Linked DNA regions of Homo sapiens: region 1 is linked to region 2. Evidence: promoter capture Hi-C in 16 types of primary human blood cells and fetal thymus (Javierre and others, 2016). All regions are on one chromosome and are shown on one strand. The core of a region is centred on a gene start or on the middle of the fragment in contact, and the rest is flanking DNA. Distances in the headings are between cores, read along the strand shown. Region 1 holds the start of TMCO1 (transmembrane and coiled-coil domains 1). Region 2 holds the start of METTL13 (methyltransferase 13, eEF1A N-terminus and K55).

The links. The method cuts DNA at HindIII sites, captures the fragments that hold promoters and counts their contacts. A CHiCAGO score of 5 or more calls a contact.
Region 1: a contact is called between the fragment with the promoter of TMCO1 here and the fragment with the promoter of METTL13 in region 2, in 2 of 17 cell types (total B cells and naive B cells). The highest score is 7.5, in total B cells.

The regions. Positions count from the first base shown.
Region 1 is chr1:165,767,491-165,772,500 of GRCh38, forward strand. It overlaps TMCO1 (transmembrane and coiled-coil domains 1), which reads right to left and starts at 1,378. Exons shown (of 7, transcript NM_019026.6): 1 at 1,192-1,378; 2 at 702-779. The coding sequence starts at 1,261. It overlaps TMCO1-AS1 (TMCO1 antisense RNA 1), which reads left to right and starts at 1,439. Exons shown (of 3, transcript NR_125374.1): 1 at 1,439-1,885. RefSeq lists enhancers at 989-1,665, 1,666-2,341. The HindIII fragment of the contact is 3,297 bases long and covers 1-1,848 here.
Region 2 is chr1:171,778,345-171,783,428 of GRCh38, forward strand. It overlaps METTL13 (methyltransferase 13, eEF1A N-terminus and K55), which reads left to right and starts at 3,316. Exons shown (of 8, transcript NM_015935.5): 1 at 3,316-3,776. The coding sequence starts at 3,624. RefSeq lists enhancers at 3,005-3,299, 3,129-3,662. The HindIII fragment of the contact is 1,150 bases long and covers 2,554-3,703 here.

The DNA.
Region 1 (5,010 bases), core at 128-2,627, 6.0 Mb before region 2:
CATAATGACATATCATCCTCCAAACATGCCTTAAATGTTAAGATTTCCATATTTTTGCTCATATGTTATTTCTTTACCTGGAATTTCCTTTCCCCATTTCATTCTCTATCCAAATTCTAACTATCCACAAGGAACTGCAAGGCCATCAGCATCATGAAGGCTACCATGGTTCCTCACAACTGAATGAAGCCTCTTCTTCTTTTTTTTTTAAAGACAAGTCTCACTATTGCCCAGGAGGCAGTGTAGTGACACCATCGTGGCCCACTGTAGCCTCAATCTCCTGGGCTCAAGGGATCCTCATGCCTCAGTCTCCCAAATAGCTGGGACTATAGGTGTGTACCACCATACCCAGCTAATTTTTTCTGTAGGGACGAGGTCTCCCTATGTTGCCCAGGCTGGTGTCAAACCCCTAAGTTCAGTCCTGCCTCAGCCTTCCAAAGTGCTGGGATTAACAGGAGTAAGCCACTGCGCCAGATTGAACCTCTTCTTTAGAACCACCACAGCACATAACATGTATCTGCTACGCCCCTCACTTCCCTCTAGTTGGTATTACACATTTTGCATAAAAGTCTTCTATTTCTAAATAGGCTTCAAGTCAGGTTCATCTTTGTATCAGCTGGTGCTCTTAAAATATTTATTGTGAACATGGACTTAATGAGCTTGACGTGTTGAAATTATTTCTAATGTGTTGCCATACTCACATTTTTTACTCTGTTTTTCCACTTCTGCCTTCAGTCTCTTGTACTTGTCTGTCCTGTAAACCAGGACCCAGGTTATGCCTAAAACATTAAAAGCAACATGTTAATAGAGAAATGACTGGAATGATCACAACAAACAAAGTGGTTACTGTTGGAGAAGGAGGAATTCCAACTTTTCGCTTTGTATTTACCCATAGTTAACTTTTTTCAAAGGCTAATACAACTGACTCTTCAGCCAAAACAACAGTAACATGATGTGAAGGTGTCTCCACAAATACCCAAGTGAAATCTACCTGAGACCAAAGAAAACTCGGCAATCGACTCCATACTCCCCTCCTGCTCCTGTTCACGAGTTGCCCAGAGATTCCCTGAAGTGGAGTAGATGAGCCTCTCAAGCAAGTAAGGCTCGCGATCTTTCCCCTGGTGGCACAGGGGACCCCGGGGCCCTTCCTCCCGGGGACTGATCAAACGTCTGAGAAATACCCGCTCTCACCCTCTGCGAGCAGAGCCGTGCACACAGAGATAAAAACGATGAGGAGAGTGTCCGCGAACATAGTGCTCATCTCGCACCTTCGTCTCTGCACTCTCACCCGCCAGGGGGAAAGCGCTCTACAGCCAGGAAAAGTGAAGCGAAAACGGCTTCCGTAGACTCCGCCACCACCGAGTAACAGACCAACTCTGACAGCCCGAAGATCGCACTTCCGCTTCCGGGGCATAGCACCGGAAAGGCTCGTATCGGAGAACGGTGTGGCCACGAGAGTCTAGAGGAAACCAACCCGCAACTCACTGGAGCTGAAGGGCTGGTAGTCAGGCCGAATCTCGCGAGAATTGGAACTATTTCAGAGCCAGAGGAGGATAGTGGCGGCGGCGAACTTTGCCCGGTAGATTTTACTGACTGGGGTGCTGGCGCGCGCCTTTTTCTCGGCCAGAATCCAGTTATTGGGATAGTCTTGACTTCTACCTCAGCCCAACTTCTGTGGTCGTAATATTAGTTTAGCTTGGGTTTGCCGTGAAGTAAGAAGACTGACTTCCGCAAAGGTACTGAACGACTGGGTGTAGGTGCCAGGGCATGGACGTGAAGCTGGAACCGCGAAATGAGTTAGTTGTGGGCCGCTGGCCTCAAGGAGCGAACGTCAGCGCGAAGAGGAGAAGCTTGTGCATACGCTCTGATAAGGGTTTTAATAGAGGTATTACCACAGTGCTGCGTGACACGGTTGAGAGAGTGGTCAGAAGAAGCTAATGAAAGGAATTGAAGCAGTGCCTTAGGGGAGTAGGAGTACTTTTGGAGATAGCAAAGGACTTTCTAGGCAAAGTGGAAGTCAAAGCACGGATGCCTGAAAATTCATAGTGTGATAGTGCAGTGAGTAATGTATCTAGAGAAGGGGTCTTAAACCCAGATGCCTAGACTGGCGAGAGAAAATAAATTATCTTATGCAAGCTGAGCCTAAACAAATGGTGGAAGTTACTACGATGGATAAGTGAGCATTAAGTTCATCTGAAAGGAGAATTTGATACCCAAATCCAACCCATTTCTCTAGGAGAATGAGCACCCAGTTTCTGAGATGTCTTCGTTTCTCAGGAAAATCCAGAAATCCTGGGTTTTATGTGAAACTTAATTTATAAGTGTTGCTAACTAATTAAAATTCAAAAATGTCTCAGCAGCGTGGTTTCAGCCATTGTAGACGGTTTCAGCTTTTTCACACTGGGGTGTGTGTGTGTATGGGTGAAAACCTGGAAGCTGGCTGAGCTGTATCCTCTTGTACTTCCTCCTATCATTGGTGTTTTTTTGTTTGTTTGAGATGGAGTTTCACTCTTGTTGCCCAGGTGGAGTGCAATGGCACAATCTCGGCTCACTGCAACCTCTGCCTCCGGGTTCAAGCCATTCTCCTGCCTCAGCCTCCCAAGTAGCTGGGACTACAGGTGCCCGTCCCCACGCCCAGCTAATTTTTTGTATTTTTAGTAGAGACGGGGTTTTGCCATGTTGGCCAGGCTGGTCTTGAACTCCTGACCTCAGATCCACCCACTTCGGCCTCCCAAAGTGCTGGGAATACAGGCGTGAGCCACCGTGGCCGGCCCTCATTGGTTCTTTTAAACTGTACTGCACTTAAATATATAATTCTCCTAAACACTACTTTTGACTTTTTTTTAGCTTTATGTGCATTTCTTGTCTCCCAGACTTAGCAACAGAGACCCTGTCTCCTTTTTAAGAAACATTATTGAGCTTCTACTATATGTCAAGAACTGTGGTAGGCACTGTAGGGTCAAAAGGATGGTTAAGAGAATATTCCTGACTTCTAAGGGCCCAGGGAGATTATATAATATAATAAGATTATAGGTATTATAGAGGTATTCTTAAAATGTTGAGGGGGTACAGATGAAAACAAGATGTATTCTTCCTGGGGAGTTGGAAAGGTTTCAGAAAGATCATATTTGAGCTAGACCTTTATTTGAGCAGTTCAGACAAGGATAGGTTTTTATTCACCTTTGTATCACCCAAGGTAAGTGCTGAGATAACAATAAGAGCATGATCTTGGAAATCAGACCTGATTTTAAATTCTTGCTCTGCCACTTACTTGACAGCAGTCCTAGAACCTATTGTTTAGCATCTTTGAGCCTTCAAAATGGTGGTAACATCAGCTATGAAGACTGGATGAGGAAAAGTATATTATAAAGCATTTCAAGCAGTGCTTGGCACACACAATTCATCAAATTCAACATGCTATTCATTGTAAGACGCATCATTATTTTATCTACTACTAAAGAGGAAAAAATAACTAATTAAACCATGACACACCATTGATTGTAAGAAGAATCCCATTCAGAGATGTTAAAATATGAAAAAATGAGAAAATATGAAATATATTAATAAGCAGTTAAGTTATTCCTGTGTAAATGTTTACAACCATGGACTGCTAGGATACACTTCCTTTTCTAGGGTAATGATGTCATGACACTATGCCCCTTGTTTAAGAACAGTGCTAGAAGTCAGGCGCGGTGGCTCACGCCTGCAATCCCAGCACTTTGGGAGGCTGAGGCGGGCGGATCACGAGGTCAGGAGATTGAGACCATCCTGGTTAACACGGTGAAACCCCGTCTCTACTAAAAATACAAAAAAATTAGCTGGTCGTGGTGGTGGGCGCCTGTAGTCCCAGCTACTCGGGAGGCTGAGGCAGGAGAATGGCGCGAACCTGGGAGGCGGAGTTTGCAGTGAGCCGAGATGGCGCCACTGCACTCCAGCCTGGGCGACAGAGCAAGACTCGGTCTCAAAAAAAAAAAAAAAAAAAAAAAAGGAACAGTGCTAGAGACAAGTTCAGATAACATCTTTTCTAGATTCTACTAGTTTTCTTTGTTATATTCCCAAATTCTCTAAGCTCTTAGTTGTACTATCTAATTTTTAGATTTCAAAGCTTTCCCCATGAGGACTGCTCTCCCAAAGCTCACTGACCTCCTCCAATCTCTAGTACAATAGGAAGACTTTTGTCCTGGGACTTAATTTTACTATTCTCTTGAAACCACATTTTTGTTTCTAGTTTATACTTGATGTTGTGGTACATCTTCAAGTAACTTTCTGTGAAAGGTGAATGGGAGCTAAGCCTGTTCTTACATTATTAGTAGAATTAGTAATAATAATACTGTTGTTGCTTTGGGGTTGTGTTTTGTTTTCTAGAGACAGGGTCTCACTTTGTTGCCCAGGCTCGGTCTCGAACTCCAGGGCTCAAAGCAGTCCTCCTGCTTCAGCCTCCCAAAGTGTTGGGATTACAGGCATGAGCCACCATGCCCAGCCAATACTGTGCTTCATTTTTATTTATTTATTTAATTTATTTTTGAGATGGAATCTCACTCTGTCGCCCACGCTGGAGTGCAGTGGCACAATTTTAGTTCACTGCAACCTCTGCCTCCCGGGTTCAAGCGATTCTCCTGCCTTAGCCTCCGGAGTACCTGGGTTTACAGGCATGCACCACCATGCCCAGCTAATTTTTGTATTTTTAGTAGAGACAGCGTTTCACCTTTTTGGCCAGGCTGGTCTTGATCTCCTGACCTCAAGTGATCCACCCACCTCGGTCTCCCAAAGTGCTGGGATTACAGGCATGAGCCACCGCGCCCAGCCCAATACTGTTCTTTAAATACACATTTAATACTAAGCTAGGCATTGTAAAAGATTATAAGAGAATTATAAATACCTGCTTACACTCTGACATTTGAAACAATATGAACTTTACGTTTCAATTTTAGCCCCACTGCATGTAAGCTACCTTATTTTAGCAAGTTACTTAATTTATCTGAGCCTCATTGTTTTAAATCTGTAAAGTAT
Region 2 (5,084 bases), core at 2,066-4,565:
ACCCTGTGATTACATTGAGCTCAGTTAGATAATCTTGCTATGTCAGCTGATTAGCATCCTTAATTGCATCTACAACCTTAATTCTTCTTTGCCTTGTAACCTGTTACCTTCACAGTTTCGGTTCAGGGGATTAGGAGGTAGACATCTTTAGGGGAGCATTATTTTGCCTCTCTCATCCTCTGCCTCCCAAATTGTCAGAGATGCTTTTTATTCCCTCTTTATTATTTTACAATTAATCGTAGTAACAATCAATTGAATATTACCACAATTATGAGAATGTTTCAATTAAGTAAGTTTGACTGTAAATTATATATCCAGAGGTCTGGATTTATATTTTTAGGAAAAAACTCCACAATACTGAATGGCTTTATCTAAATTTAGCTTGCATTTTAAATCATATTTTTAACCACTCTGGGGATCCTAATAAAACACAAAGCATTTTAACATCTTATTGGTTTAAATTAACTAAGTATACTAATGATAACACATACCTATCAATTATATTTCATAGTTAAATCTTGAGAGAAATAAGCTTCAAATAAGTATTTTGAAAGGTTAATGCTAGGGTCTAATGTTACAATATATCTAAAATATTTCTGTGTTAATCTTACAATTTTAGAAAATCTCTAGTATGTTTAAGCTTAAAATGTTCTGGTTGTTATCACTTTTTTAGGCTCACAGAAGGGAGGCAGGCACAGATGGAAAAACGTAAGTTACTTACCCTTTTGGTCTGAAAAACACTGCAAACAGTAATCATACTTTTAGAGCATCAAATACGGGGCTGGAGCCTGGGCTGTGATAGAAATAACTTCGTCTTTTCTAATAACATGACCTTAACAGAACAGACAATGGAGACAGAGGGAAAAGCAGCAGCCAGAAATTCTTGTAAAGGTTCCAGAAGGTGAACCATGCTTTTTGGTTTTTCACCTATGTCATGCTGATATTAAGCAGTCAGATTATATAGTATTTTTGTCCCTTCCTCAGGGAAGCCTTCTCTGGTTACCCCTTAGATCAGTAGAGGTCACAAAGATATACTATCATGGAATGGTATGGTTCTCCTTCACAGCACTTATAACTCCCATTACAGACTATTTTTGTAATTGTTTAATGTGCCCTCCACGTGATTACCATGCTTACCACTGCATCCTTAGCTTCTACCACAGTGATTGGCCCCTATTAGACAATTAAAATATTTGTTGAACTGAATTGAATAAAGCTTTGGGGGGCACAGAGCAGCTGCTATGGTTTTTGTTTGTTTTTGTTGTTGTCGTTTTTGAGAGGGAGTCTCCTTCTGTTGGCCAGGATGGAGTGCGGTGGCGCAATCTCTTGGCTCACTGCAACCTCCGCCTCCCGGGTTCAAGCGATTCTCCTGCCTCAGCCTCCTGAGTAGCTGGGACCACAGGCACACACAACCACGCTCGGCTAATTTTTGTATTTTTATTAGAGACATGGTTTCACCATGTTGGCCAGGCTGATCTCAAACTCCTGATCTCAAGTGATCCGCCCGCCTCGGCCTACCAAAGTGGTAGGATTACAGGCGTGAGCCACCGCGCCTGGCTGCTATGCTGTTTTGCTTCTTTGGTATCGTGTAGCACATTCAGTACAAGTGATGTCCTCCGCTCTCAATAAGTGCTTCCTAAAGAACTCACATTTCACCCATTCAGAACCTTGCATGGTGTAGTAGCTGAAGTTACTACTTCAAGGACTCCTTCTCTTTATCTTGGGTAGAGAGGAACAATGTGAACTCAGCAAAGGGATCATGAAAACAGATTTTCTCTTATGTTACTTGTAGAAAGCTTTTAGATTTATCATTGAAAATTGCGAATTTTGAACCATATCCATTTTGACTTAATTGTATTTTAAAACAGTGGTTCTCAAAAAAGTGTGGTTCCGGGACCAACATCATCAGCATCGTGGGAACTTGTTAGAAACACAAATCCTTGGGCCTCACCACTGAACTAATGACTTAGAACAGGGGTTGGACTGGGGAATTCTGTGTTTTAACAAGTCCTCCAGGTGATTCTGACGCATGCCAGTTTGAGAATCACTTTTTTAAACCAATGTTTAAGTCCAATCTAACCTACTTAACTATTAACAGTCTACCTGGCTATCTACCTGTGGTAGTGTAGTATGTAACAGCCCACAGCACACATGCTCAATTCCAAGCCTATCTGCTCTCCGCAATCAGTATATTCCTCCTGCAATTTATCATGGTATGAAAGGCCCAGTGATACACATATTTGGTCATTTTCAAATAGTGCCTGCCAGCATAGTGGCTCACACCAGTCATCCCAGCACTTTGGTAGGGTGAGGCGAGATGATCATTTGAGCTCAGGAGTTTGAGAACAGCCCGGACAACATGGCGAAACCCCATTTCTACAAAAAAAAAAAAAAAATTAGCCAGCGGTAGTGGCGTGCTACTTGGGAGGCTGAGGTGGGAGGATCCCCTGACCCCTGGAAAGTGGAGACTGCAGTGAGCCATGACTGCACCACTGCACTCCAGTCTGGGCGACAGAGACAGACCCTGTCTGAAAAAAAAGTGCCCTTCACAGAAGCTTCCTCAGGGTATTAGCATGAGCATGTGAAAGTACAGTATGTTTATCAAACACATAAAATAAGCAGTTATAAATAACGTCAGAATAACACAAGGAGGCCAATTATCAAAATGAAAGGCTAGTTTTGCATGCTGTGCTTTGCGGAGAGAAGGAAGAGGGAGTTTTCATGTTATTACACTTTTGATAGCAGAATCCTATATTTTGGTGCAGAGGTGGCAAAATAAGGCGGGGGGTGCTGGTGCGCAGAAGCTGACAAGGTTAGAATGTGCAGCGTTTTTACGACGGACTGGCTTTACTCATTTCCTGCCTCACTTCTCTCCTATCTGTATAGGTTTTTCTTTTCGTCCTCCTCTACCAGTACGCTCCCGCCTGCCGCGCTCCGCCCTTGTGCGGCGCACGATCGGAGTCAGTGATTAAGCCGGCTCCAAGACAAAGCGGAGGCCGAGCCCAGGAAGCAAGCGCGCTCTCCGCCCCGCCTGGAGGGAGGGCCCAACCACAGCACAGCCGCGCTCACTCCTCACCCGGACGTGACCTAGTTCTCACAGAGGCCCGGCCTCTTCCGCCACAACTCCGGCCCGCGGTCCCGCCCCGTTCCGTGAATGGTCGGCCGGCCTCAGGTCAAAAAAGCGTTTAGGTGTCTGCGACGGAGCCTCCGGAGAAAGGCAAGCACGTCGCAGCCAATGAGGTGATAGAAACGCAAAGCAGCGACCAATGACTAGCTGAGTTGGGCTGGGCCGGCCGACGAATCACGAGGCTTCGCACCCGGATATGGTTATGGGCTCGGAAATCTAGTTCGGGAAAAGTGTGAGGGGCTCTTCACGTGGGGAAGGAACAGCAGGCGCGGAGGAGGGGGCAAGCGTGTGTGAGATTCAGTGGTCCATGCGTGCGTTTGTCGTGTAAGGGTCATTCCTGGGGTTTGGAGTGGGGGAACAAATCAATGTGGCTGTTTTTCCGTGGAAAGAATTCCCACTGCAGTGTCCCGGAGCCTGCGTGTGGTGGGCAAGCTCCTCAAATGGTATCTCACAGGGAATAGGGGAGTCTTGAAAACGCAGCTTCGGCAGTAGGAACATGAACCTCTTACCTAAAAGTTCCAGGGAGTTTGGCTCCGTTGACTATTGGGAGAAGTTCTTCCAGCAGCGAGGAAAGAAAGCTTTCGAGTGGTATGGAACCTACCTGGAACTGTGCGGGGTGCTACATAAATATATCAAGCCCAGGGAAAAGGTGAGGAGCGCGGGTTGGTAGCCCTTCGTACGTGCTCCGGAAGGTGGGAACTGGTAACAGGAATCTTGCACTTGGTGGACAGTGACAGGCGGGAGGACCCTAGTTGGACGCATATTTCAGCATTTCCTGCATTGTTCCTGCTAAAAGACAAACTAGAATATTCTTTCAGGCCGGGCGCAGTGGCTCACACCTGTAATCCGAACACTTTGGGAGACCGAGGTGGGAGGATCGCTTGAGCCCTGGAGTTAAAGACCAGCCTGGGGAACATGAGACCTCGTCTCTACAAAAAATGAAAAAATTAGCCGGGCGTGGTGGCGCGCATCTGTATTTCCAGCTACTCGGGAGGCTTAGGCGGGAGGATCGCTTGAGCCCAGGAGGTCGAGGCTGCAGTGAGCCATGATCACGCCACTGCACTCCAGCCTGGGTGACAGAGTGAGACCCTGTCTAAAAAAAAAAACATTTCTTTAAAGGTTTTCAGATAATAGACCTCCCACCCCAGCTCATTCTTGGATTAATAACCCTACTTGAAGAGTGACTTCCCATCTTGAAAGTATGTTCTTCTGTCACTGTGCATTCCTGTGCAACCTGCAGCAGGTGTGACTTTGTGTATGAATTTGTTTTTCAAATAGTCGTTGAGTGCGCCCCAAGTTTCAGGCACTGCTCAGTCCTTAAACTATAAGAGCATTAAGACGTAAACCCTGCACATGTTCCAGAAGTGAAACGTGATAAGTACAACAATGGGTTTGGTATAGGTGAGATTGTACTGGAGGTAGGGAAGGAGGAAGGTAGAAAACTTAACATTTGTGGGGAAGCTTTATGTGCCAAGCCTTATGTTGGGTGCTGTGTATGTGCATGTGCAATCTTTGAATTCTCATCATAAATTCAGGTGAGTGGCCATGCATACATTTTACAGATGAGGAAACTGAGGCCCCGAGAGCCACTTTTTTTTTTTTTTTTGCCCAAGATCATGTCCAGGTGGTCATGTGGGGATTTAAACTCAGGCCTGTCTGGCTCCAGAGCATATGCACATCTCTTTGTACCATGCTTTTCCAAAGATGGCAATATCAGAATTTCTAAGTTTGAATGGGAGATTGCTCCCTGGAGAGGGAGACAACAATCTGAATTTTAAGTTCGGCTTCAGAAGATAGCCAAATATCATGAGATGGAATCCGTGATGGAAGTAAGATTTGAATCCTCACAAAGTGTACTTTATTGTCTAAAGGAGCCAAAGGCATGAGTAGAGTGAGGAAATAGGGTTATTCCTGGCCTAGGATTTCAACTGTAACTCTATATTTGGATTCTCTGACT